Regions from separate parts of the Homo sapiens genome. Here all the other regions are linked to region 3. The links are contacts of gene promoters, found by promoter capture Hi-C in human tissues and cell types (Jung and others, 2019). All regions are on one chromosome and are shown on one strand. The core of a region is centred on a gene start or on the middle of the fragment in contact, and the rest is flanking DNA. Distances in the headings are between cores, read along the strand shown. Region 1 has its middle 280 kb from the start of PHLPP1. Region 2 overlaps PHLPP1 (PH domain and leucine rich repeat protein phosphatase 1). Region 3 holds the start of VPS4B (vacuolar protein sorting 4 homolog B). Region 4 overlaps SERPINB10 (serpin family B member 10). Region 5 has its middle 20 kb from the start of SERPINB2. Region 6 has its middle 270 kb from the start of BCL2. Region 7 has its middle 260 kb from the start of BCL2.

Region 1 (3,269 bases), core at 224-2,723, 430 kb before region 3:
CATTCAATAATCTATGAATTAAGTTATTCCTCTTTTTCTTTTCCTTTCTTTTTTTTTTAAGACAGAATCTCACACTGTCGCCCAGGCTGGAGTGCAGTGGCACACTCGGCTCACTGCAATCTTCCCCTCCTGGGTTCAAGAGATTCTCGTACTTCAGCCTCCTGAGTAGCTGGGATTATAGGCACGTGGCACCATGCCCGGCTAATTTTTGTATTTTTGGTAGAGATGGGGTTTCATCATGTTGGCCAGACTGGTCTCGAGCTCCTGACTCCAGGTGATCCGCCCATCTTGGCCTCCCAAAGTTCTGGGATTACAGGCGTGAACTACCACGCCTGGATGGATTATTCCTCTTTTTGTTAGTGACATCCCTCTGGCACCTCTATCTCCCTGTCCGGTCTAGCCTTTTCATCCCCAGGATTGCTACTAAGCTGTCATCCTTGTGCTTCCTTTTTCACTTCCTGGGAATTTTCTTTGCTCATCTCCTTTACTGGATCGCCTGTCCCTGCGTTTGTATTTTCTTCTTTCTTGGTGTACCCCTTCATTTTACCAGGAAAAAATCTCCAGTAACTTCCTTAGAAAATATGCATAGGAAGTCAGTTTCATGAGCCCCTACCTGTCTGAAGATATCTTTGTTTTTCCATAACACTTGATGGATGTGTGGTTGAGCATAGAATTCTGGCTGGAACTCTTTTCCTTCAAAAATTTCACAGCATTGCTTCCTGCTTCCACTGTTGAGTCTGAGACTGATACAATGATTGTGTTTCAGTAAAACTTTATCTGCACAACTACGTGTTGTGTTCCAACAAAACTTTATTATTTACATGTTCTCTACAGCTGCTTTTGTGTTATAGTGGCAGAATTGAGTAGCTGGGACAGAGGCTGTAAGGCCCACAATGTCTGAAATATTTACTATCTGGCCATTTACAGAAAAAGTTTATCAACCCCTGTCCTATTGAGATCTTTATAGTTCACACTGGACTACTGTGGCTAATCCTCAAGTTTTCTTATCTTTATGTCCCTTTTGTCTTTCTGAGAGATAACCTTATTTTATCCTCCAAATCTCTTAAAAAATCTCTTCTATCATATTTTAATTTCCAAGTGCTTTTTACAGTTCTCTGAATTTTCCTTTTTCCTAGCATCCTGTCTTTTCCTCTATGAGGATATAAACTGGAATAGGTGTTTTTGGTTTTGTTCCTTGAATTGTCTGTTTCTGTGTGTTTTGGTCCCTGTCTTGCCCTGGGGGCTGTCCTCAGGTGACCGGTGCTCCTGGGCTGCCAGTCCACACTGAATGAAGAGCGTCGCACCAGAACACTGCCAGCCCCTTGTGCCCTGGTGGGGCATGCCCACAGGAGGGTCTGTGCATGCAGGGGCGGCCTAGCTTCCTCGGGGCCCATCCCTATTGTTAGCATTTATCCACCTTTTCTTTTGAGCCAGCAGGAGCCCTCTAATGTCTCTCCTGGGGAGATGGGTAAGGGTGGGGTATTTATTTTGACTGTTCGCCTACTTTCAGCACGGAGAACCGATCCACTGAGCACTTCCTCTATTCCAGACACCATTCCAGCCCCTGAGGTTAGTGGGAAGGAGGTCAGAGAAGGCCAATGCCTTCAGGCAGCGCCTCCCGATGGAGAAGATGGACCAGGAATAAATACACTTTTTAAAATTAACACTATTATATTTCAGATTGCAAAAAAAGATATGAAGGAAATAGAAGAGGGTAAGTGATCGAGAGTGATATCTGACCTAAGACCTGGCCGAAAAGAAGTCAGATTAGGATCTGGAGGAAGGGAAGGAATTTCAAGCAGAGGCAACTGCAATGACCCGGAGCGGAAGCAAGAGCCGGGACGCTCTCGGGGAGTGGGCAAAAAAGAGCGTCCCTCTCTCCTCACCCCGGCATCTGACCAAGAGCAGAACAGGGCAGAGAAACATGCAGAAGAGGGCGAAAAGGTTGCGTGTGTGTCTTAAGGCTGGCCATGGAGCCTGTGCCCTGTGTCGCCGGTAAGTGAGCCAATGACTGAGAGCCTGGTTCAATCAGACTTGCCCCCGCAGCCAGAGAGCGCCCCCTGTAGGGAGCCCGGGCTCCCGAGGGAGGGAAGACGGGCTGCGCGTGCGCAGTTCATCCTCCCCTCAGGCGGGGAGGTCAGGGGCCATGCAGGGAGGTCCTCCTGGCTGCAAACTGGGCGCGCCCAGGCGCCCTGGGGAGGGTGGCGTGGCTGGAGCTCAGTGATTCAGGGGAAGAGTGTGTGAGATGGAGGCCAAGGCCAAGGGACATTAGTGAACACGATGCTCTGAATACAAGGAGAAATGGGAATTTCTAGCCTAGGAGCCGGGCTGCAGGTGAGCGGATGGAAAATTAAGAGGAAACATCAGGAGAACAGGGGATTCTGGCCAACGACACGACAGAATTCTTGCTGAAGGCAGGCCAGGTGATAAGATGTCAGGACTGGGCCGGCACGGGGTCTCACGCCTGTAATCCCAGTACTTTGTGAGGCTGAGGCAGGAGGATCACTTGAGGCCAGGCATTTGAGACCAGCCTGGGCAAAAAAGTGAGACCCCGTCTCTACTCTCCTGCGCCCCCCACAAAATAAAGCTGGGCGCAGTACTTGAGCCCAGGAGGTCGAGGCTGTAGTGAGCCATGATCACGCCACTGCACTCCCCAATGGGTTACAAGGCAAGATCCTATCTCCTAAAGTAAAAATAATGAGGGTTGTCGTGCAGAACCCCTGTTAACTCCAGTAGGGATGGTGCCATGTCCAATAGGCTGAGGAACAGACCTGGAGCCAGCTAAGGAGACGTAGGGTTTATTGGGGACTCACATACAGAGCTGTCCAGGAGCCCCAAGCTGGACAGGAAGATGGCTCTCATGTGTAAGAAGCATGCGGGTTATATGGCATTTTCACTTAGGAACCTCTACCTGGCAACCTCCACCTGGCAACCTCCACCTAGCAACCTTCATTTAACCCAAAACAAAGGGCCTCAATCCCCTGTACCGCCTGCCATTCCAAGGGATGGGCCAGGGGTCTGGACGTCCTTCAGATGAATCTCCGGGCGGCCACTCCTGGATTCCTTAGCTCAGAACTTCGAACACACATTCCTTAAGACCATGGAGTCATTCTCAGGGTGTGCTTGACTTATTGCTGTTAGGTGCATCTGCCCTACAGGGTGGGGAGGAGGAATTTGATCAAACATCAGGAGTGGTCAGAACAAGGGTGAAACATTTGCTGCTACACCTGCCTGCCTGCATTCTTGCTAAAACTGGACTAAATGGGCCA
Region 2 (3,620 bases), core at 328-2,827, 450 kb before region 3:
GAGCTGCAAAAAACAAAAAACGAAGAAGAATACATGGTCAATACATTCATTGTCATGCAAAGGTAAAACTCAGAGTTCCTGCTTACCTGCTGTGTGTTTTCTTGCTCTTTGAGTGTTTATCCTCTGTTTAGAAAAGCAGGTGCCCAATGGTCTCCAAGCCATGTTTTTTGACTATGAGTACCAAGATGCATTCAGGCAAGTTTGGTGTTGCCCAGGCATCAGGAATGGTGCTCCGGTTTGAGACATACTGATGTTCAGACAACTTTGTAGAAGGCTCAGACAATGACAAGGAATTAGTTTCTCTGAGAACTGGACCTCACTGGCCTGTGTTGATTGCAGATTTTCATCAGATTGTTTGCAATGCCATTTCTCCTCCCAAATCATGTGAGCTGTAGGGGCTTTTTAGACTTTCTGTTGTGGGGACCTCTCTTTGAAATGGACCGTTTCTATCCTAGTTTCTTGGCCCTTATGAAATACTATCACTGGTTTGAGATAGTGCAAACCTTTGTGAAATCAAGATGGTCAGATTTTAGCCCAAGAGTTAAATCATTCTTTATATTTTGTTTTCTCCTTTATTAAATGTTCAAGACAGTGTTACTGGCAGAATCCTAGGCCATAGCCTGGAGTTGCCACCAGCAGCAGAGCTTTAGGTTGCTGTAGAAATTGTGGAATATTGTTTGTAACTCTTAGAGGAATGAGGATTCCTTCATTCAGAGAATTGTTTATTCTTACCACCTTCATGGCTTTCTAGGTAATAATGGAATTGCCTGTCTATAAGTATTGTGCTGCAGACTCACTCATGTGGGACCCAGGAGTGATGAATGTACTGGTATTTGAGGTCATGAGAGCAGTCATGGTGTTTTATCCTTATCTGCTCTTTCTCTCCCTTGATATTCTGCCAGAGCAAGTAGCTTTGTTAGAGGGGTAGAAGTGGTGTCTGGGGAGGAGTGTTCAGAGCAGCCTTTACAGTGATACCTGCATCACAAATGGTTCCTCTCAGAGAGCTTGGTGGAGGCAAGCCTGGGGTGGTTCTTGCTGCTACACTCACCCCTGACTTTCAGATTCTCAGTGAGCATATACAATTAGCAACTGAACAATAATGGCTAATATCCAGCAAGCCCTTAATATGTACCAGTCATTGTTCTAAATTACCTTATGTGTCATAAATTGTTACCAGTTAGCTGGGTAATGTTACTGAAAGTGATGTACAGTGAGGTGAAGCACAGTGCCTACGGGCTAATAGGTAGTGCAGCCAGGACCTGACCTCAGGTTGTGAGACTCCCTTCAAAGGATGTTGTAACTAGCAGGCACATCAGCTTTCCTGTTTTTACCACCCTTTTGTTCTAGAAAAACAGCAAGCATGTATCATATGCACACACATACACATGTGCATACAGACCACAGCACAAACACATCCCTTCACAACCCCCAAAAGGTCTGCTTTTTATGCACCCTCAAGCACTGGGTAAGAATTAAAAACTGAGAACCCCAGTCTCGGATTACTTGCTATACTTTTTACAAATCACTGTGCCTGTGAAAGGGAGAAAGTAGAGATGCCTTGGAAGGGTCTAGAGCCAAATATCTGAAAGTTGGAGTTTAGGAACCTAAACTATAGGCCCTTCTCCAGGGTCTTTTGTATGTCTCTTATTTTCCCTATCTGTTAAGAGGGTACGGGTTGTGTGGTGAGCTTTTGGTCCTTAGGGGAACTGGTCTTTGTGCGGGATTTCCTAATGCATGCAAGTAGGCAGCCCTGGTTTCCATTGCTCTTCTTGCCAGTTGCTTACCTTACACACGTGATAGGAGCAGACAGTACCTGAGGGTCTGCCCTTGTAAAACGGGAGGCTGTTTTTCTTAACTTTCTTGCTCCTGTACCACTCAGGAACAGCAGGGGCCTGGGCAGTGTTACCATTTGTGGGGCTTGCCATAGTTGTTCATGAGGCCATGGGAGCAATAATGGTCTTTTGTCCGTCTCTGCCATTTCTCTCCCTTGATAATCTGCCAGAACAAGTAGCTTTGTAAGAGGGGTTTTTGATTTTTGATTTTCAGAATTTGCAGGTGCTTTCTGTATTTGGTAGGTCTGTGGATTCTCATGATTAAAAAGATAAATCACAAGCACTTGGTATTTGATTACTAGAATGTCCTTTCTATGAGTTTTCTAGAATAGATGGTGCTGGTCCAGAAAGTCTTTACTATATAGGGCAGGAACATGAACACTCCAATACTTCAAGGCTGCTACCAGCAAACACCCTTATAAGGGGGAGAGGGTTGTCAGGTTTTTCTAAAGTGTGCCTGTCAGTGGGGTAGGGTGTTTATACCTGCTCTTACATACATGGTTTTTTCAATGTTCCTTTCCTGGGGACAGAGGGGATTTAGAGAAGCAGATGGAGAAAGAAGTCATTTTCCTGCTGTCTTTGGAGTGTGCTGATAGGGCAGTGTGGTTGATGAGGGTAGCAGGCTGTACACAGCAGCCCAGGGGCACCCGCCTTCCAGAGCAGCACCTGTGGCTTTTAATGGTACAGTGATACTGTCTTCCAGTTGTGAGCCTCTCTGTGTGGATGTGTGTGATGTCAGATTCAGGGGCTCTTTTCATCAAAGAGGCAGAGCAGTGTGTGCTTTGATGAAGGAGGCGGAGTGGAATCCCCAGCTGTCTCCTTCCTGGCCCTGTCCAGTGGTGCGGTCTTGCTGTTGAATTTGCAGAACTGGCACTGATGGGCTGTGTTTGAGTGTCACCCCCTCTCTTCGGATTCCAGGAAACTTGGAACTGCTGGGCAGAAGCTTGGTGGTGCCGCTGTCCTTTGTCATATCAAGCATGACCCTGTGGATCCAGGAGGATCCTTCACCTTGACCTCTGCTAATGTGGGCAAGTGCCAAACAGTTCTCTGTCGAAATGGAAAGCCGCTGCCTCTGTCCAGATCTTACATCATGAGCTGTGAAGAAGAGCTGAAGAGGATTAAACAGCACAAGGCCATTATCACTGAGGTGAGAAAACAGGGGTGTTGCCCAGGATGGTGGAGAGGAGAGGAGAGGAGACCAGGTCATAGCAGAAACTAGCTAGGGAGCATTTGCCTTCAAAGAACACTTTTGAAGTTGGTTTGACATTAGAATTCCAAATCCATAGTATCACAAAGCAGATGTCTTACATTATGATGTATATGCTTGTTGGTTGCCTCTCTGCATCAGGCACTGTGCTGCGTGCTTCATGGGCATGATCCCATTCCATGTTTGCAGCCACTCTGCAGAGGGCTGCTTTGGTGGTTGAGGGCTCTACCCCTGACATCACACTGCTAGTTTTCATATCTTAGCTCTGCCACTTGTAGGTTGTGACCTTTAAACCTCTCTAAGCCTCAGTTTTCTCATCTGTAAAGTGGGAATAATCATGCATCTGTCCTATCTTACAAGGTTGGTATGACTTGTAAACTATGAACGTCTATGTAAGTGTACTAGTTGTTATTTTGGTTCATACCTCATGTCCCATTTGAGTACACAGTAAGCAGTTTTCAACTGGGGGCAGTTTGCTTCCCCACAAGACATTTGGCAACATATGGAGACATTTTTGGTCATCACAGCTGGGGCGGAGAGTGCAATTGACATGCAGTGGATTGAGGCCACTGAGCATCCTA
Region 3 (3,334 bases), core at 59-2,558:
TTAATAATCTTCTAGGTCGATTTTCAAGATGAAAGTCCCAAGCAAGCCTCCTTTCCCACTCTTTTTGTGTATGTGTGTGTGAAATTTTAATCTCTGTTTAAGTGGGTCTACTTTGAGTGGTCTTTCTTCAGAATCAATTATCATGGGTTAAGGAGTTCTTCCATTACCTTTGATGCCTCTGTCAGGCACTCCAATAACTGCTTGTTCAACAAACTACCGGAAGTCCACGACGGGGACTCAATACAAGTATTTTAGGCTACTCTTTTGTGCCTTATTGACTTACTGGACTGGGAGTCCTCTACATTAAGCCACATTACATTCTAAACGCCACTGAAGCCCTAGATCCATTCTGGGGATGGGAGACACCATTACATTAAGAAATTTCTTTTCTGAACGAATTCCATTCCACAGAGGACTAACGATTAAGCCTAAAATCTTAAGATTCCATGATTTGTGTACAAAACACTGTGCTCATTGCGGTAGAGGAGGGGAAGTGGAGCCACACAGAGGTTTAAGAATACTCCTCGATCTTACACACTACCATCTGGGAGCCACAGGAGTGTGCACATAAATTCAATGACTTCACGGAGATTGCATGCAGGCTGGCTGTAATCTCAGATTCTTGGTCTGTTCCCATATCTCTACTCACCTGACAGCTCAGAATGAAGGGGTCTGCTGTCAGCTTGAGAAACTAAGACCGAACTATGACCACCCTATCTTCAACTGGTCCAGAATAGGGCTTTGCAAAAATTACGTTCTTTCTTTCTCCGTTAACCCTGATTGGAGAAACCTGCCCAGATCTTGGCTGGTTTGGAAGCGGGAAGTGTCAACAAAAGTGAAGAGTCTCACAAAGCCAGTAGCTCGGGAGACCCCAAGAGCGGGCCAGAAACGACCTTTCCGTTGGAAAACGGGCCCCTCTCCCACCTGCTGCAGGTCCCCGGACCCGCCCTCCTGCGCCTCGACCACAGGCGCGGCCGCTTCCTCCCTTCTCCCCGCCCCCCACCCGCTTCTCGCGCCTCCCCTCGATCCCAGCTCCCTAGGGGGACGGGAGATGAGCAATGATACCTGGAGGTTGGGCGAAGTGGATGACATGGCGGAGTTCCCAGGCGGTTCCCAAGGGAACGAGGGGCGAGGAGAGCCAACAGCAGCAACGTCGAAGCGCGCACGGGGTAACAGCCCTCAAACTGGGGAGGCCGGTGGTTCTCGGACCGCGAAGGGCAGCCTCCCTTCCGGAACTTGTTTTAGACAACACTCTCTCCACCAGAGCTCCGACCCTCCCCACCAAACTTCCGCAATCCCGAGGCCCTCTAGGTTCTGGTCCCGCCTCTGCTCCGGGCACTTCCGATTTCGTCATCAGCACGCGCACCCAGTCACCAGACTCCCTTCTCTAGCCACAGCGCAGGCCCTCCCTGGGCCGGGAGAAGTAGCCTGGAAGCCAATCGAGCCCTGGCGGAAGTCGGGCTCGGCGCAGGCGCACTGAGACTCTGGCCTAGGCGCGGGCGGCAGCCTGGCAGACCTAGGAGAGCGCAAGCGCGGAAGCACAGAGCCGGGTTTTGTTGTTTGTTTGTTCCCCACCCCCGGGGACGTCTTTTACTTTGAGATGAATTATTGGCCCCGGCTCCCTTCCCTCCTCATCCACATGCTTTGTTGCCTCGTAGCTTTTGAGTGAAAAAGTCGTCCATTTCCAAGACCCGCCGACTGGGGGCTTTGGGCCTGTGACTGCGCCTTCACTCCGTGTCCTCTGTGGAATGGGGGCGATCACCGTCCTCGTCTCGGTGGTGAATAATTCAGGAGGGAGTGCGCGGTGAGGCGGCCGCACAGCGGTGCGCTAGCAGTCAGGCCGCGGGCGGGTCGGCGCTCGTTCCCGCTTGTTCTTCCCACGCCACTCGGCATCTTCCAAATGACTGTTGTGTTGGGAAGATGAATGTAAATAAGGCGTGGACGGCCGCTGTCCTCGAGTATGTGGTCTGAGAGGGAAGCACTTGTCCTGTAAAATGGGCATATCAGATATTATTTATGCCAGTTATGTTTACAAGCAAATGGCTTGAGGAGGTTGAATGCGTCAGGGATTAGAGGCAGAACCAAAGTAAAACCCTTTCTCAGCCTTCCTATGGTTTGCAGCCACCACCACCCTTTTCTTCTTTTCATAGTTAACATTCTCAAAGGAAAGCAACATAGATGTTTAATCACTCCATCATTTTTTTCTCACTCATTTCTTAATTTTTTCTCATCTGGCATCTCCGAAAGAATTAAAGTCCTCTCCTCTTCCCTCTTCATTGGTATTGTCAACTACCCAGTTCTTGTTTGTCCAGCTTCCCAATATTCCTTATCTGCTTCCTTCACTGTCTCCCTTTCTTACTCCTCCCTGAGCTTAAGCTGAATTTACTCAAGAGTCTGATGTCCTCTTCTCTCTTCACCTCTGCTCATCTAACTCTCTTCTTGAGCTTCAGCTATCAATAGACTAGAAATTGCTTCAAATCTGGATCTCTAGACCCACCCCATCCCCAGCCCAGCATTTACAACAGCCTCCCAGAGGTTTCCTTCACAGGGTTTTTCTGCAAGACAAATTCAACATACTCTAATTAATTACCTTCTACCCTAAACTTCTTTCTCTGGTCTCTCCTTAGAATAGTATTGCCAAATCTGTATCATCCAGGCTCGAAGCACAGAGCCCTCTCTCTGCCCTGCATCTACCCGTCCTTTCTTCCCACTTGTGAATTTGCCTTCGCAAAATGATGACTGAGACAGTGAAAGAGATCTAACTTAACCAACTCCATCTTACTTTTAACCTCCAAGCTGTCCTTGTACATTCCTGAGCATAGGCTGAACTAACTGTGGGAGAAACTGAGTTTATAATTTAAGCAAAGATGGGCCGGGCGTGGTGACTCACGCCTGTAATCCCAGCACTTTGGGAGGCCGAGGTGGGTGGATCACTTGAGGTCAGGAGTTCGAGACCAGCCTGGCCAACATGGTGAAACTCCATCTCTACTAAAAATACAAAAATTAGGCCGGGTGTGGTGAGTCACGCCTGTAATCCCAGCACTTTGGGAGGCCAAGGCGGGCGATCACCTGAGGTCAGCAGTTCAAGACCCGCCTGGCCAACATGGTGAAACCCTGTCTCTACTAAAAATACAAAAATTAGCTGGGCATGGTGGTGCGTTCCTGTAATCCCAGCTACTCGGGAGGCTGAGGCAGGAGAATTTCTTGAACCGGGACCTAGGAGGCAGAGGTTGTGGTGAGCTGAGATCGCACCACAGCACTCCAGCCTGGGCTACAGAGCGAAACTCTGTCTCAAAACAAACAAACAAAAATTAGCCAGGCGTGATGGTGCCTG
Region 4 (3,377 bases), core at 26-2,525, 500 kb after region 3:
CTTAAAGACAGTTTCCTTTCTTGTAGGCTCATGGACTCTCGTTTGATGCAGAAGTAGGAGACATGATTGACTCAGTGGGCACTTAGAAACAAGAGGGACACAGAGATAGAGACAAACATATTTTTATATGTCCACAAGCCCTGAATTAAGACAGGCAGTGGTCCCTCAAAAATATTTAAGTTTTCCTTTTATTAGATTTTAAATTCCACAGAATTTAGACTTCATAATCTTCAAGCCACTTCCTGGCAACAGAATTAACTCATCACTTTTTCTCCTACAAGCCCTGCATAAAGTAAGCAAATTGAAGGAATACTACAATGTCTTGAAGAATAAATTGTGTTCCCAAGGCAGATGCCTCCATAACAGCAAACTCAGTCATAGCCTACATGTGATGACTGCCACTGGGTGAACATCAGAGGACCAGGAGGAGGTGAAGGCCTCATTTTTTTTTTTTTTGCCTCAGAATGCCTAATATAACATTCAACTCTGCTTAGAAATCCATTTTCATGGCAGGATATCATTTTCTTCAAGGGTCCTCCACAAGATTCTTGTTGTTTAGAATCCACAGAAGGAAGCTACCAGTATCACAAGCCTCACTTTGGTTTCATACCTACCATAAAAAGTCAAGTACAATGCCCAGTACCTCTTGGCCACTGGGGTCACTCTTGTTATTTGTAGTCCCTTTCCATTCTAGCCTCATTTCAAGGCATGGATAAAAATAGAAAGGAAGAGGATGTGGAAGCCCCAAAAATGTGGGCATCCGTACTTCCTTCCACAGCTGGAGCTCTGCATAGCTAGCCAGTGCCCTGCTAAGTTTGAAGAGTGAGGTGTTTAGTTTTTGACCAAAACTGGGAGTCAGGAAAGAGAGGATGGAGTGATGGTGTGGGAGTGTGCAATTGCCCGCCTACCTAGTTCTTTTGATAATCTAAATAGATTTGATTTCTCAATTTTGAACAAACTCTACAAAAGGGGATTTTTATCTATGTCTTTCAGAAATATTTAGAAGACATGAAAACATATTTTGGTGCAGAACCTCAGCCTGTTAACTTTGTGGAAGCTTCTGATCAAATCAGAAAGGACATCAACTCTTGGGTTGAAAGACAGACCGAGGGTAAGCTTTCACCAAGGGGTTTGGCAGCGTGCTTTTCCCAAACATCCTTGTATTTATTTTAGTTTGTGTCATATGTAAGTATGTATACTCCTTAAATAGAAGTGTGGACACATTGTAAATATTCAGAACATTTATTTCTATTCATGTACGTAATTTTTAGATTCACTGCCTTCCTAATAAGTCTTATCTAAAACAAGTAAGTCAGGCCATCACTTTACCAAATAGACAAGAAAATTATCATCTCCCACTAATTCCAAAGAAGAGCCCAAGGGTAAAAAGCAGAAAAATGCAAAAAGGAAATTGAAAATACTGCCACATGCATGGTTTTTAAGGAAAAATATCTACTAATAACAGAAATGTGGCATTAAATGTGCTATAGAATCTTAAATACTTTTCAAAGTAAGTTCAAGTATCAGTTAGAGTATGGATTAAACTACTCTAAAGAAGAGACCCAAAATATAGTGGCTTAATAAGACACAAGTATGTCTTTCTCTCAAATAATAGTTCAAAGGTAGTTAGGCATCCTGGCTTAGAGAGAGCATTTTGCCTCCCAAGGCCATCCAGAGATCCAGGCTGGTGTTCAGCACTGCCATCCTCAATACATGGCTTCCATCTCTAGGTGCAAGATGGTTCTTACAATAGCCAGTTGTAGTAGCAGCAGGAAGTGGGGAAAAGAAATTTCAGCAAAAGCTAATTTGTCTTTAAGGGGATGCCCTGGAAGTTTCACATGTTAATTCCACTCATCTCCCACTGGTCTAAACTTAGTCCATAGCACACTTTCTGCTAGGGTGACCAGTGCATTCTGGTTTGCCTGTGACTTTCCTAGTTTTAGGATCAAAAAGCCCCTAATTCCAGGCAAGAGTGACCAACCACATTCCAGTCAATTCCAGTCACCATACTTGCTAGAAGAAAGACCTGCAAAATGGAGTTTTCAGCTGGGTTGCCATTTGTCACCTAAATTTCAGGGTTTTATTTCTAAAAGGAAGTAGTAGAAGGATTCTCCCAGGCAATTTAACAGTCTTTTATTGTTATCCTTATTTTAGAAATAAGGAAGCTGAGATTTTAGAGAAATTATCTATGATTACACAGTTTAAAGCTTCAGCAATAGGATTTCGAATATAAGTCAGCTTAGTTCCAAAGTCTGAACTGATTTCTACACACCATGCTGCCTTTTAAATCAACATTTCAATTGATATTATATTATATCTTATGAAGAAATACAAAGGCATCATCATTAATGAAGATTAATTAATCATTCATGACTTAATGAAGATTAATTCATCATTTGTCATTAATGAATATTAATGATGATGCCTTTGCTTTGTGTCTAAGCACATGGAATGTTTTGCTGTCTTCTCCTCTGAACTTCAGGGCTCATAACAAACACCTGCTAGACATATTTGCCAAGGGTCCCATGCATTTCAAATTCACCATACCTGAAATCACATTCAGAATGGTTTTCCCAGACCTTGTCTTCCTCATGTATTCTCCATCTTGGTGAATGGGTACACCAATCACACACTTGCCCAGAACAGTAATCTGAGACATACTCTAAATTCTACCCTTTCCTTTGCTTCCTCTTAAATGTTTCTCAGAGTTCACTTTTCCTTTCAATTCCTTTCCTCCACAGCCTTTCTTTCTTCGCTATCTTTTATCTGCACAAATGCAATAATTTGCCTCTAATCTTGTTCCCTTCAAATCTAACCTCCATTTACCACCCAAATTACCTGCCTAGAATACAAATTAGACCAGATAGGCCATGTCACTTCTCTACTCAAAACTGATTCATGCTGCCCCATGACCTATGGGATCAACACAAAGCCCTTAACCAGACATATAAGGGCCAATATGACTGTGGAGCCTTGCTTGTCTCTCCACTTAAACTCTTGTCACTCCCTGGATTAAAATTTATATTTCAGGGATTCTACATGTCATAGAATGTCCCGAACTCCCTGTGCTACTTAATGGCCCTGTACTCATGCCATTTCTTCTATCTGAAATACCGTTCCCTGCCCTGCCACCCCCAACCCCTCCTTTGCCCCCAAATAACTTCTCAGGGCTTCATTCAGGCTAAACATCCTCCTCTTTGCTCCCAGACATTTATGCAAACCTTTACTTTGACACTTACCACACTGTTATCAAAACTAACTGCTTATACATCTATGTCCCCTGCTAGACTCAAGGACTCTATGTGCGATAACTCTGCCTTCAGCTTTAAATCACACATAACAGGCCTGCTCATAGCAGTTGTTCAGAACATTAATGT
Region 5 (3,699 bases), core at 998-3,497, 450 kb after region 3:
AACATGGGAGAAAATTTTCGCAACCTACTCATCTGACAAAGGGCTAATATCCAGAATCTACAATGAACTCAAACAAATTTACAAGAAAAAAACAAACAACCCCATCAAAAAGTGGGCAAAGGACATGAACAGACACTTCTCAAAAGAAGACATTTATACAGCCAAAAAACACATGAAGAAATGCTCATCATCACTGGCCATCAGAGAAATGCAAATCAAAACCACTATGAGATATCATCTCACACCAGTTAGAATGGCAATCATTAAAAAGTCAGGAAACAACAGGTGCTGGAGAGGATGTGGAGAAATAGGAACACTTTTACACTGTTGGTGGGACTGTAAACTAGTTCAACCATTGTGGAAGTCAGTGTGGCGATTCCTCAGGGATCTAGAACTAGAAATACCATTTGACCCAGCCATCCCATTACTGGGTATATACCCAAAGGACTATAAATCATGCTGCTATAAAGACACATGCACATGTATGTTTATTGCGGCACTATTCACAATAGCAAAGACTTGGAACCAACCCAAATGTCCAACAATGATAGACTGGATTAAGAAAATGTGGCACATATACACCATGGAATACTATGCAGCCATAAAAAATGATGAGTTCATGTCCTTTGTAGGGACATGGATGAAATTGGAAACCATCATTCTCAGTAAACTATCGCAAGAACAAAAAACCAAACACCGCATATTCTCACTCATAGGTGGGAATTGAACAATGAGATCACATGGACACAGGAAGGGGAATATCACACTCTGGGGACTGTGGTGGGGTCGGGGGAGGGGGGAGGGATAGCATTGGGAGATATACCTAATGCTAGATGACACGTTAGTGGGTGCAGTGCACCAGCATGGCACATGTATACATATGTAACTAACCTGCACAATGTGCACATGTACCCTAAAACTTAGAGTATAATAAAAAAAAAAAGTTTAATTAATGTCATAAATTATGATGATGATGGGGAAAATAGGGATATGACTGCATTTATGGAGCCACTTCCATGTGCCCAATACTAAATATGAATAAATGCTTTATGTATTATTGCATTTAATTTCACACAAAAACTAAATGATAGATCATATTAAAGCCCATTTTACATATAAAGATATGAGAGAGCTTAATAAATTGTCCAAAGTTATCCAGGTAAGTTGGAGTAGACGTTAAAAGTTGATTGGGATTTTGTTAAGATACAGTTGATAAGAATGGGGCCTTGACATCCTGACTAACTAGCTGTGCAACCTTGAGCAAGTGCTCTACTATCCTTAAGCTCTGTTTTTCTCCTCTATGAAATGGGGCAATCATAGTACTAATACATATGGTTATCATACAAATTAAATTAGATAATATAGCTAAATTGCTTAGTACCATGAACGCATATAGTAATGTGCAATTTCAGAATTGTCATTATGCACGTAGAATGTTATTCATCACTATGATTTTATGAATCGACTCAAAGCTTGTGTTCTTTTCACTATTAAACACACTGTCTACATATAAGTACAAAAATAAGGGCGTGCGAAGTAGGTGGTTACCTCAGCCCAGCATTGATAGAAGAGGGCTGTGAAGGGGAGGGAGGAGGAAGGAAGAGCTGGAATGAATCCTGCAGAGTTCACAGCGAAGGTGCGGAGAATGATGAGGATGGCATTGAGTAGGTGGGGAGGTCAATTTCATACTGTGAAAGATAATTCCATTACATTTAATTCAGCCAACATCTGCAGAATACTTACATTGCTCAAAGCAGAGAGAAACATGATTTAACTTCCACTGTAGAATTATAGTGTAGTGAACAAGTCAGACAGGTATACCACTATCTGTTTAAATTTGGGGTGAGGGAAGCAAGTGTATGTGGTGAGGGGTTTTGTGAAGTTCTCATCCCAGGCAATGGTAACATCAAAACAAAGAAGCAAGACAAACTAAAAGCTAGATGGAAAAGTCTTTATCAAAAAGAGAAAAAAAGAAACAGAAAGAGAAATTTTAGAATTGTCATAGCCAAAGGGTCTCAAAAGCAATCATTAAACCTGGGACATGAAACCAGAAACTGGGAGTCAGAAAGCTAGAAATGTGTTGAAACAAGCTGAGAGTAACTGGGTGGGGTAAGGAATTGGGAGAGGCAAATATTTTGCATAGCTGTTTGTGCTCATGTTTGAGTTTTATGAAAATAACATAATACTTTTTAATTAATATAATGTAAATCTTCATTTTAAATTGAATTAAAAATTATGAACGGCTTTTCATTAAGTTAAATGAACACATTAAATTAAGTTAATGAATTAGTGTTCACAATCTCCACCACAGGTCTGCCTCTCTCTATTCTCTTTGCTTCTATTATGTGGGGGAGGTTTCTTGCTTCATGGATTAGTTTCTAGGCAGGAGAAACTGAGTAATGTGTATAACCCAGAGGGTAAGTTAACAGATCTAATTAAGAGCTAATAAAAAGGAGGAAAAGGAAGAGGCCTGAGGAATTTTTGTAAAGCAAGGGGTTTAGGTGTCTGAGAGGGCGTGTGAGAGTAGGGAGCAGAGAGAGACATCGAAGAGCAAAGGCAAGAGGGAGAGGCAAAGGTCCAGGCACAGGGCTGTTGTTGATAGAATTGGAAAAGAGTTGCAAAGGGATTTTTGATGTGGTGTCATGGAGGCCTCAACTGGAAACCCTCTTTCTTCCAAGAGATGGAAGCAAAGATTGGAATTGCTTTTCGATTATTTCTGGTTTGCTGGACTATCCAGACAAGGTGCATTGTAACCTGCATGTTTCCGTTGGGGTTAGCAGTAGAACTCAGATAGCTTCATCTCTTGGGAAATAGATATCAAAGAAAGATCCAGAGACAGAAAGCTTTAGAAAAGGAAAGAACAGGTAACCTCAGAAGAAAACTATGTGCAAAATTACCAAGATTTCCAAATTTACATTAATCCATCGATAGTGGAAAAAGCAATGACTTTCACGTACTTGTGTTGTATTCATAAGGGTCATGCCATAGCTTCGGATGTGACTAATTAGGGAGACCAGGTTTATTTGAGGTTTTTATTATTTGAGAGTGAAACTATAGCCAGATGTAATAACCATGTTATTAATGATCCCAAGATGCAATTTTTTTCCCATACTCAAAGTGCTTTGTTATATTAGAAGCAAGGAAGAGCGTTAGTTTTCACTTCTACACAACAAGGTTTCATAATCTATTATAAAAGCCTGTAGCAGGCTGGGTATGGTGGCTCACGCCTGTAATCCCAGCCCTTTAGGATGCCAAAGCGGGCGGATCACTTGTGGTCAGGAGTTCAAACCAGCCTAGCCAACATGGTGAAACCCCGTCTCTACTAAAAAAAAAAACAAAAATTAGCCGGGCTGTTGTGGGCTGTAGTGCACCTGTAGTCCCAGCTGCTCACGAGTCTGAGGCAGGAGAATTGCTTGAACCTGGGAGGCGGAGGTTGCAGTGAGATGAGATCGCACCATCTCACTCCAGCCTGGGTGACAGAGACAGGCTCCAGCAAAATAAATAATAAATAAATAAATAAAGCCTGAAACAATAAGCAGAAATGAACTAGAATGGGCCAATGCTACAAGAAACTAGGAAACAAAAGGAAACTGCAGAATCAGCAGAGGCAGACAGCAACGCAAGGTGTAAAATAGAAACTCCCTTGCCACCCAAGTGGATAGAAAACAGTTTTAGACAAACATACTTTGTCATTAATTT
Region 6 (3,677 bases), core at 730-3,229, 380 kb before region 3:
TTTCCTTGGGATTATAAGTCAATTTTGCCTCTTTCTTTTAGAATAATGGGAGTTTAGAATCATGGCCTTCATGGAGTCCATCCTCTCATTTGGTAGAAGAGGAGACTGAGGCCCAGAGAAGGGCAGTGGGTTACCCAAGATCACACAGCCAGGCTGCGGCAGTGTTGAGACTGGGATCCACACTACTGAGTTTGGTGTACCTTCTTGTAAGACAGCTCAACCCAGTGTGTCTGCTTTGGGTTCAGAGATTTCAATTCAGAATTTTTTGTAAGTTCTATAATTTAAAAGTGAAATCGTGTAATTTAAAAGTGAGAAAAGAACTAGTCAAGTATGAAAGAATTCAAGGTTTTGCATATCAGAAAGTCCTAAGACTCAAATGAGCAAATTATAACAAGTTAGCTCCTGAGTCCAACAGAGTCTTCTGTCTTATTTCCAGTAAAGTGTTGATCCCTTCTTTCTTGAGTGCAGAGCAGACACCAACAATGTGACTGCTTTATGAGCAAACAGCAGTGCAGTAAAACGGCTGTTCTGGTTTCAGGATACTGTATATAGGTGTGTGTTGATGTTACTATGCTGCATTCTGGAAGGACCTGGGAAGAAATTAAGTTCTAGAAAATGAATTACATCCAATAAAGTCTTTGGAAATCTCATTCGAGGAACTCAATTCCCAAAATCATATGTGAATTTATATATTTTAGGAGGCAATGACAGAAAAACAGCTATTATTTATTGAGCTCTTTGCGATGCCAGGCATGGTGATTAAAAACCTGATCAGTATTATTTCCCCTAGTCCTTTCAACAACCATTTTTGAAATGAGAAAACTAAGGCTCAGAAATGTTAAGTGGCCTTCCCAAGTCAGAGAACAAATAAGTTGCAAGAGTGAGATTTAAACCAAGGTAATGTAGTTTTAAAGCCTGTGTGTTGAGTTCTTAGACTATCAGGCACGGAAGAAAGCTTGTTGCTGACTTAGCGACATGACTTAGAACTTGATAACGTCTCTGGAAGAAAACTAAGAGTGCCAGAATGTTACAGTCTCAAAATATACTAAGTGCTAAAAAATTATAGGAAAGACATGACTTTATTTTTAAAAGTGTGGGTTCTATTTAGCCCCTCATTTGGGATTAGATGGCATCGTATGTTTTTAAGAGAAAATCATCTGCGGACAAGGAAAACATGTATTATTCAAAAGCTTGGGGTAAGGTTGGAGAAAGGCTGGGGAGTCAATGCTGAGAACACCTTTCTCCATGGCAGACTCAGACAGGACTGGGAATAATGAACAACACATCCAATGATTTAAATTCCCACCGGCGCTTAGCAATAGTGGCCCCAGCCTCCAATGGCCCCCTTCAGATATGCTCTCCGGAGACACACAATGGAAGTGCACTTGCCAAACCACAGTGGCTTCGAGATGAGTCTACCAGAGCCTCACCCCACCCCAGCCTCTATAATATATGTCATATGATCTATGAGTTATAATATAATTTTATATATTATATAACACATGTATTATTTATAACTCATGTATAGTATATAATATTTTTACTTCACTATAATTAATATATATTTAATATAATTTTAATGTACCTATATTAAATATATTTAATGTACTATATATTATATATGAAATATATATATAATATATAATGTGTTATAATATTATATATAAATATATAGGAGGAGCTTAGGATTATATATAATATGGTAATAAACCCAGATAAATTATTTTTGGGATATTTAGAAACAAAGCCAATCATCAGAGGCCCATCCTGGGTGACTTAATAACTTGAGTCTTCTATTTAAATCACTTTAACAGCCTGTAATCACAGCACTTAGGGAGGCCGAGGCAGTAGGATCACCTGAGGTCAGGAGTTTGAGACCAGCCTGGCCAACATGGTGAAACCCCGTCCCTACTAAAAATACAAAAATTGGCCGGGCACGGTGGCTCATGCCTGTAATCCCAGCACTTTGGGAGGCCGAGGCGGGTGGATCACCTGAGGTCAGGAGTTCAAGACCAGCCTGACCAACCTGGAGAAACCCTGTTTCTACTAAAAATACAAAATTAGCCAGGTGTAGTGGCGCATGCCTGTAATTCCAGCTACTCGAGAGGCTGAGGCAGGAGAATCGCTTGAACCCAGAAGGTGGAGGTTGCGGTGAACCGAGATTGCGCCATTGCACTCCAGCCTGGGCAACAAGAGCAAAACTCCGTCTCAAAAACAAAACAAAAATTAACCCGGCGTGGTGGTGGATGCCTGCAATCCCAGCCACTTTGGGAGACTGAGGCAAGAGAATTGCTTGAACCTGGTATGTGGAGGCGGCAGTGAGCCGAGATCACACCATTGCATTCCAGCCTGGCAACAAGAGTGAGACTCCATCTCAGAAACAAACAAACAAATCACTTTAACAAACAAACTATAAAGTACTTACCATACATGCCAGGCACTCTGCCAGGCATCCTGGGCAATTCAAAGATGATTTGCCTCTGGCCTGCTTAGAGTGGCTTAGATGGAAAATTCCATTTCATGACCTCTCTTTCCTCCATGTCTTCTCAGACCTGTCTAAACTGGTAAGCGCTGCACCCATTCAGGTTGTGGGTAACAGCTGAGATTGCAGTGTGTGTCCCACACTGGCATCTACAGGGCTCCAAGAGTCTGAGGATGTGGTGGGGGCCATGAGTTCCGTACAATACATATTTTTTGATGCTAATTTTTAAAGATCTTAATAGAAGTGAATGCAGCATCATTTGGTGACCACTCCAAAACTAAATCCCTGCCCAGGAGTGAGGTACCTGCATTTGTATTTACAATCTTTTTGTCACCAAGGAACATATAATTGTCCTGGTCTACTGCCAGAAGAGTGGGGTCTGAAAAGGAGAGATCTTGGCAGACGAAACTGTGACACCACCTTGTGCCAACTGAACACAAAGATTTCAACTAGTTAGAGAAGAGGCAAGGAAATCACTGAGCCATTAGATGCCCCCCAAGAATACAGGGATGTCAAAATTAAACAAAACAACAAAACTGCTGCCACAGCAATGAGTGCTGTTTCATAGAGAGCAGCAATTTAGCTTCAACAAACAAGATCAACAGTCCTGTGAGGTAACATTTTAATTTTGTTGGCTTTGTGATTTGTTTTGTTTGTTTGTTTGTTTTTTGAGACGAAGTCTTGCTCTGTCGCCCAGGCTGCAGTGCAGTGGCATGATCTTGGCTCACTGCAACCTCTGCCTCCCAGGTTCAAGAGATTCTCCTGCCTTAGCCTCCTGAGTAGCTGGGATTACAGGCGCCCACCACCATGCCCTGCTAATTTTTGTATTTTTAGTACAGAGAGGGTTTCACCATGTTGGCCATGCTGGTGTTGAACTCCTGACCTCAGGTGATCGGCTCATCTCAGCCTCCCAAAGTGTTGGGATTACAGGCGTGAGCCACCATGCCCAGCCTGTGATTTGTTTTTGACTTGTAAATTTGTTTTTATAAATCAATGCATAAGAGCTATGAGTATAAAGGATTAAATATGGAGTTTTGTATTTGTAAGCAGCATTACTATAGAAAAAAATTTAAGGCAATAAAGGGGGTCCACAACATATTTTCCCCTGAAAAGGGGTCCAGGCCAGGCGTGGTGGCTCACACCTGGAGTTCCAGACTTTTGGAGGCTGAGGCGGGAGGGTTGCTTGAGCCCAGGA
Region 7 (3,676 bases), core at 582-3,081, 360 kb before region 3:
TTACACATACATTTATGGATTCAACAACTATCCATTGAGAATCTGTTAAGTGCTAGGCACTGTTCTAGTCACTGATGATTTTAAAACGGAACAAAAGGGGGGCAATTCCCTGTCTTCATGGAGCTTATCAAGAACATTTGCATGAGGAAGGGGCCTAGAAAATAAGCAAGAGCTATTCAAAATATTGCCTGATAAAGGGTCAAGTACTGGGTTAAATACTGTCCCCTCCCCCACTCCCCACTCAGTTCATGCCCACCCAGAACCATAGAATGTGACCTTGTTTGAAAACAGGATTTTTGCAGATGTGAATAGTCAAGATGAGGTCACACTGGATTTGAGAAGGCACTAAATTCAATGACTGGCATCTTGACAAGAAGGCCATGTGAGGACTCAGGGAGGCACAGAGGGAAGGCAGCCGTGGGAAGGAGGAGGTGGAGATGGGAGTGACGCAACTATGAGCCCAGAGTCACCCAGCAGTGCCGGGACCACCAGCAGTTAGGAGAGCGGCATGGGAGCTTTCTCCCCAAGTCTTCAGAAGGAACCAGTTCTGCCAGCACCTTGATTTTGGACCTCTGACCTCCAGCACTGTAAGTGAGTAAATTTCTGTGGCTTTAAGCTCCCTGGTCTGTGGTCATTTGTTACAACAACTCCAGGAATCTCATCCAGGTGAGAAGTGCTGTGAAGGTAGGGACAGAGGATTGGCCGGGTGCGGTGGCTCACGCCTGTAATCCCAGCACTTTGGAAGGCTGAGGCAGGCAGATCACTTGAGGCCAGGAGTTCGAGACCAGCCTGGCCAACATGGTGAAACCCCGTCTCTACTAAAAATACAAAAATTAGCTGGGCGTGGTGGTGCATGCCTATCATCTCAGCTACTCGGGAGGCTGAGACAGGATAATCGCTTGAGCCTCAGAGGCGGAGGTTGCAGTGAGCCAAGATCATGCCGCTGCACTCCAGCTGGGTGACAGAGTGAGACTCTGTCTAAAAAAAAAAAAAGTAGGGACAGAGGATGGAGTGTGTTTAGTAGGGGAGGAAGTTTGGAATTGTGGTGGGTAAGGTAGCCAGGGAAGCCCTCATTGTACAGGTCATGTTTGAATGAAAACATAAAGGCAACGTGAGAGATTCGTGCAGCCATCTGGGAGAAGAGTGTTCTAGGCATCTGTCTACAGCAGCAGTTCTCAAAGCGTGGGCTTGGACCAGCAGCGACAGCAGCACCCAGGAATTCCTTAGGAATGCAAACATCTTGGCCCCACCCCAGACCTACTGAATCAGAAACTCTGGAGAGGGGAATCGCGGGGATTCTGATACATCTCCAAGTTTCAGACCCACCATCTATATAACCTGGACTCCACCGAGCCTCCACCTCCACCTCCACCACTTTCTCTTGCCCATTCTGCTGCAGCACCAGGCTCTTCCCTCCGGGGCTTTGTCCTTGCTGTGGCCTCGCTCTGCACAGCTTCCCTCTTGCTGTCCCCACGTCTTGCATCCTTACCTCCACCAGATCTTTGTTTCAGCACCACGTTCTCACTGAGGCTTCTCCCAGACCACCCTCATTAAAACCACCACCCACACCCTGCAGGCCCCTTCCTATGTCCTGCTTTTCTCTTCTCTCTTTTCTTTTGTTTCTTTTTTCTTTTTCTTTTTTTTTTCTTTTTTTTTTTTTTTTTTTTTTTTTTTTTTTTTTTTTTTTTTTTTTTTTTGAGACGGGTTTCACTCTGTCGCCTAGGCTGGAGTACAGTGGCAATCATGGATCACTGCAGCCTTGACCTCCTGGGCTCCCACCTCAGCCTCCCAAGTAGCTGGGTCTATAGACGCACGCTTCCACACCTGGCTAGTTTTGTTTATTTTTTGTAGAGACAGGGTCTTACTCTGTTCCCCAGGCTGGTCTGGAACCCCCAGGCTCGAGCCATCTTCCCGCCTCTGCCTCCCAAAGTATTGAGATTACGGGTGTGAGCCACCGCCCCCGGCCTGTCCTGCGTTGTTTTTCTCAGTAGCACTTAGCTCTATTTAACAAATCCAAGTTTGTCAGAAATCTGGTTTCTGAGTCCTGGTGACCAACAACAGGTAGGGAACCCAGAGAGGGAGCGTGACACACGTGATTTGCAAATCAAAGTCACGCGGGTGGAGGAGTAGATTGGGCTCAGGAGAAGGAAAAAATGTTAGCACTGCAAGGGAAATGCGAGATCATCTCATCCTTGGGTGTCCAAACTTATTTAGATGTTTGCTTTTTAAAAAATTATATGACTAATTACAACTAATAAAGCAGATAAGAGCCGAGTTTTCTCTGCGTGGCAGACCCGGAAGGGCGTTGCAGGAGTCCCTAACCCAAGCATATTGTGGGAACTATTGACTTTGTTATCTCGTTTGTTAATGGTGAAATTGGGGCTTACAGTTGGATTTAATTTTACTTAAAAGAAATAAAAGGAGCTATCCATGTCAGATCAGATCATCCCTCAGGCATTATTTAACAAAAACATTCTGTAATTTAGTGGACTCTCAAGTCTCCTTCAGAGTCCTATGCCTGCAGATCCTGCCATCTGATTCCCCCGTGTTATCTAAGCTTCTCTTTAGGGATTCTCCAGCCCCCTCTTCTTCCCTGAGGGGCTCTCTCAGTGGTGTCATCGGTTTCTCCAAATTAGAAATGTTGACTTTTTTCCTGCTTTTTTCCCCCTGAATCCACATTCCCTTAGTCACTCTCTCCTGGTTTCAAATTCTTGTTTATTACACCTGAGCCTTCCAAGGGGAGAGACTGTTTTATAACTCCAGGCGTACTGGACTTACACAAGGTAAGTGATCCATGCATTAAATTGGCTTAAAAACAAAGCAATCGAGGCCGGGCATGGTGGCTTATGCCTGTAATTACAGCGCTTTGGGAGGCTGAGGCAGGTGGATCACTTTGACGCCAGGAGTTCGAGACCAGCCCAGCCAACATCGTGAAACCCCATCTCTACTAAAAATACAAAAATTAGCCGGGCATGGTGGTGTGCACCTGTAGTCCCAGCTACTCTAGAGGCTGAGGCAGGAGAATTGGTTGAACCTGAGAGGCAGAGGTTGCAGTGAGCTGAGGTCGTGCCACTGCACTCCAGCCTGGGCGACAAAGCGAGAACTAGTCTCAAAAAAAAAAAAAAAGAAGAGGGGAGCAAATGGATATGGGAGAAAATTGATCAATTCTAAGAAAGCAGGAGAGGAGAAGGTCCAGTGGCAGCTGGCTGCACTGAGATCTCGTGTTTGTGCTGAGATCTCGTGTTTGTGCTGAGATCTCGTGTTTGTCCTGAGATCTCGTGTTTGTCCTGAGATCTCGTGTTTGTGCTGAGATCTCGTGTTTGTCCTGAGATCTTGTGTTTGTCCTGAGATCTCGTGTTTGTGCTGAGATCTTGTGTTTGTGCTGAGATCTCGTGTTTGTGCTGAGATCTTGTGTTTCTGCTGAGATACTGTGTTTGTCCTGAGATCTCGTGTTTGTGCTGAGATCTTGTGTTTGTGCTCACCGTGACTTTTCCTTACCCATTCCAAGCAGGAAGGCAGCATGGCAGGTGAAAAAGTGAGCAATCTTAGGCAGTGCCCTTCCTGGCTCTGTGCTTCCTGACAGGCTGGTGCTGGGAACAAGGTATGGAAGTAGAAGTTCTGAGGAAAGGAAGAGAACTCTCCCTAGATTGGGAAGGGCTGAGGGTGTTGGGCTGCC

What was found. Contacts are between HindIII fragments. The study calls those that stand out against the background at their distance.
Region 1: a contact is called between a fragment that was not itself captured here and the fragment with the promoter of VPS4B in region 3, in 1 of the 25 tissues and cell types used here (lymphoblastoid cells).
Region 2: a contact is called between a fragment that was not itself captured here and the fragment with the promoter of VPS4B in region 3, in 1 of the 25 tissues and cell types used here (lymphoblastoid cells).
Region 4: a fragment that was not itself captured here is called in contact with the fragment with the promoter of VPS4B in region 3 in 1 of the 25 tissues and cell types used here (spleen).
Region 5: a fragment that was not itself captured here is called in contact with the fragment with the promoter of VPS4B in region 3 in 1 of the 25 tissues and cell types used here (lymphoblastoid cells).
Region 6: a fragment that was not itself captured here is called in contact with the fragment with the promoter of VPS4B in region 3 in 6 of the 25 tissues and cell types used here (adrenal gland, dorsolateral prefrontal cortex, heart left ventricle and 3 more).
Region 7: a contact is called between a fragment that was not itself captured here and the fragment with the promoter of VPS4B in region 3, in 2 of the 25 tissues and cell types used here (spleen and thymus).

What each region holds. Positions count from the first base shown.
Region 1 is chr18:62,990,054-62,993,322 of GRCh38, forward strand. No RefSeq gene overlaps it. Among named protein-coding and RNA genes, the nearest start is that of PHLPP1, 280 kb to the left of the region's middle. The HindIII fragment of the contact is 4,858 bases long and covers 1-3,269 here.
Region 2 is chr18:62,972,647-62,976,266 of GRCh38, forward strand. PHLPP1 (PH domain and leucine rich repeat protein phosphatase 1) reads left to right here. Exons shown (of 17, transcript NM_194449.4): 15 at 1-62; 16 at 2,751-2,979. Among named protein-coding and RNA genes, the nearest start is that of PHLPP1, 260 kb to the left of the region's middle. The HindIII fragment of the contact is 3,739 bases long and covers 1-3,447 here.
Region 3 is chr18:63,421,168-63,424,501 of GRCh38, forward strand. VPS4B (vacuolar protein sorting 4 homolog B) reads right to left here and starts at 1,309. Exons shown (of 11, transcript NM_004869.4): 1 at 1,066-1,309. The coding sequence starts at 1,092. RefSeq lists an enhancer at 1,177-1,476. The HindIII fragment of the contact is 11,812 bases long and covers 1-3,334 here.
Region 4 is chr18:63,918,795-63,922,171 of GRCh38, forward strand. It overlaps SERPINB10 (serpin family B member 10), which reads left to right. Exons shown (of 8, transcript NM_005024.3): 5 at 994-1,111. Among named protein-coding and RNA genes, the nearest start is that of SERPINB10, 13 kb to the left of the region's middle. The HindIII fragment of the contact is 5,143 bases long and covers 1-3,377 here.
Region 5 is chr18:63,865,476-63,869,174 of GRCh38, forward strand. No RefSeq gene overlaps it. Among named protein-coding and RNA genes, the nearest start is that of SERPINB2, 20 kb to the right of the region's middle. RefSeq lists an enhancer at 3,676-3,699. The HindIII fragment of the contact is 4,452 bases long and covers 22-3,699 here.
Region 6 is chr18:63,044,116-63,047,792 of GRCh38, forward strand. No RefSeq gene overlaps it. Among named protein-coding and RNA genes, the nearest start is that of BCL2, 270 kb to the right of the region's middle. The HindIII fragment of the contact is 4,462 bases long and covers 1-3,677 here.
Region 7 is chr18:63,062,051-63,065,726 of GRCh38, forward strand. No RefSeq gene overlaps it. Among named protein-coding and RNA genes, the nearest start is that of BCL2, 260 kb to the right of the region's middle. RefSeq lists an enhancer at 3,166-3,460. The HindIII fragment of the contact is 4,298 bases long and covers 1-3,676 here.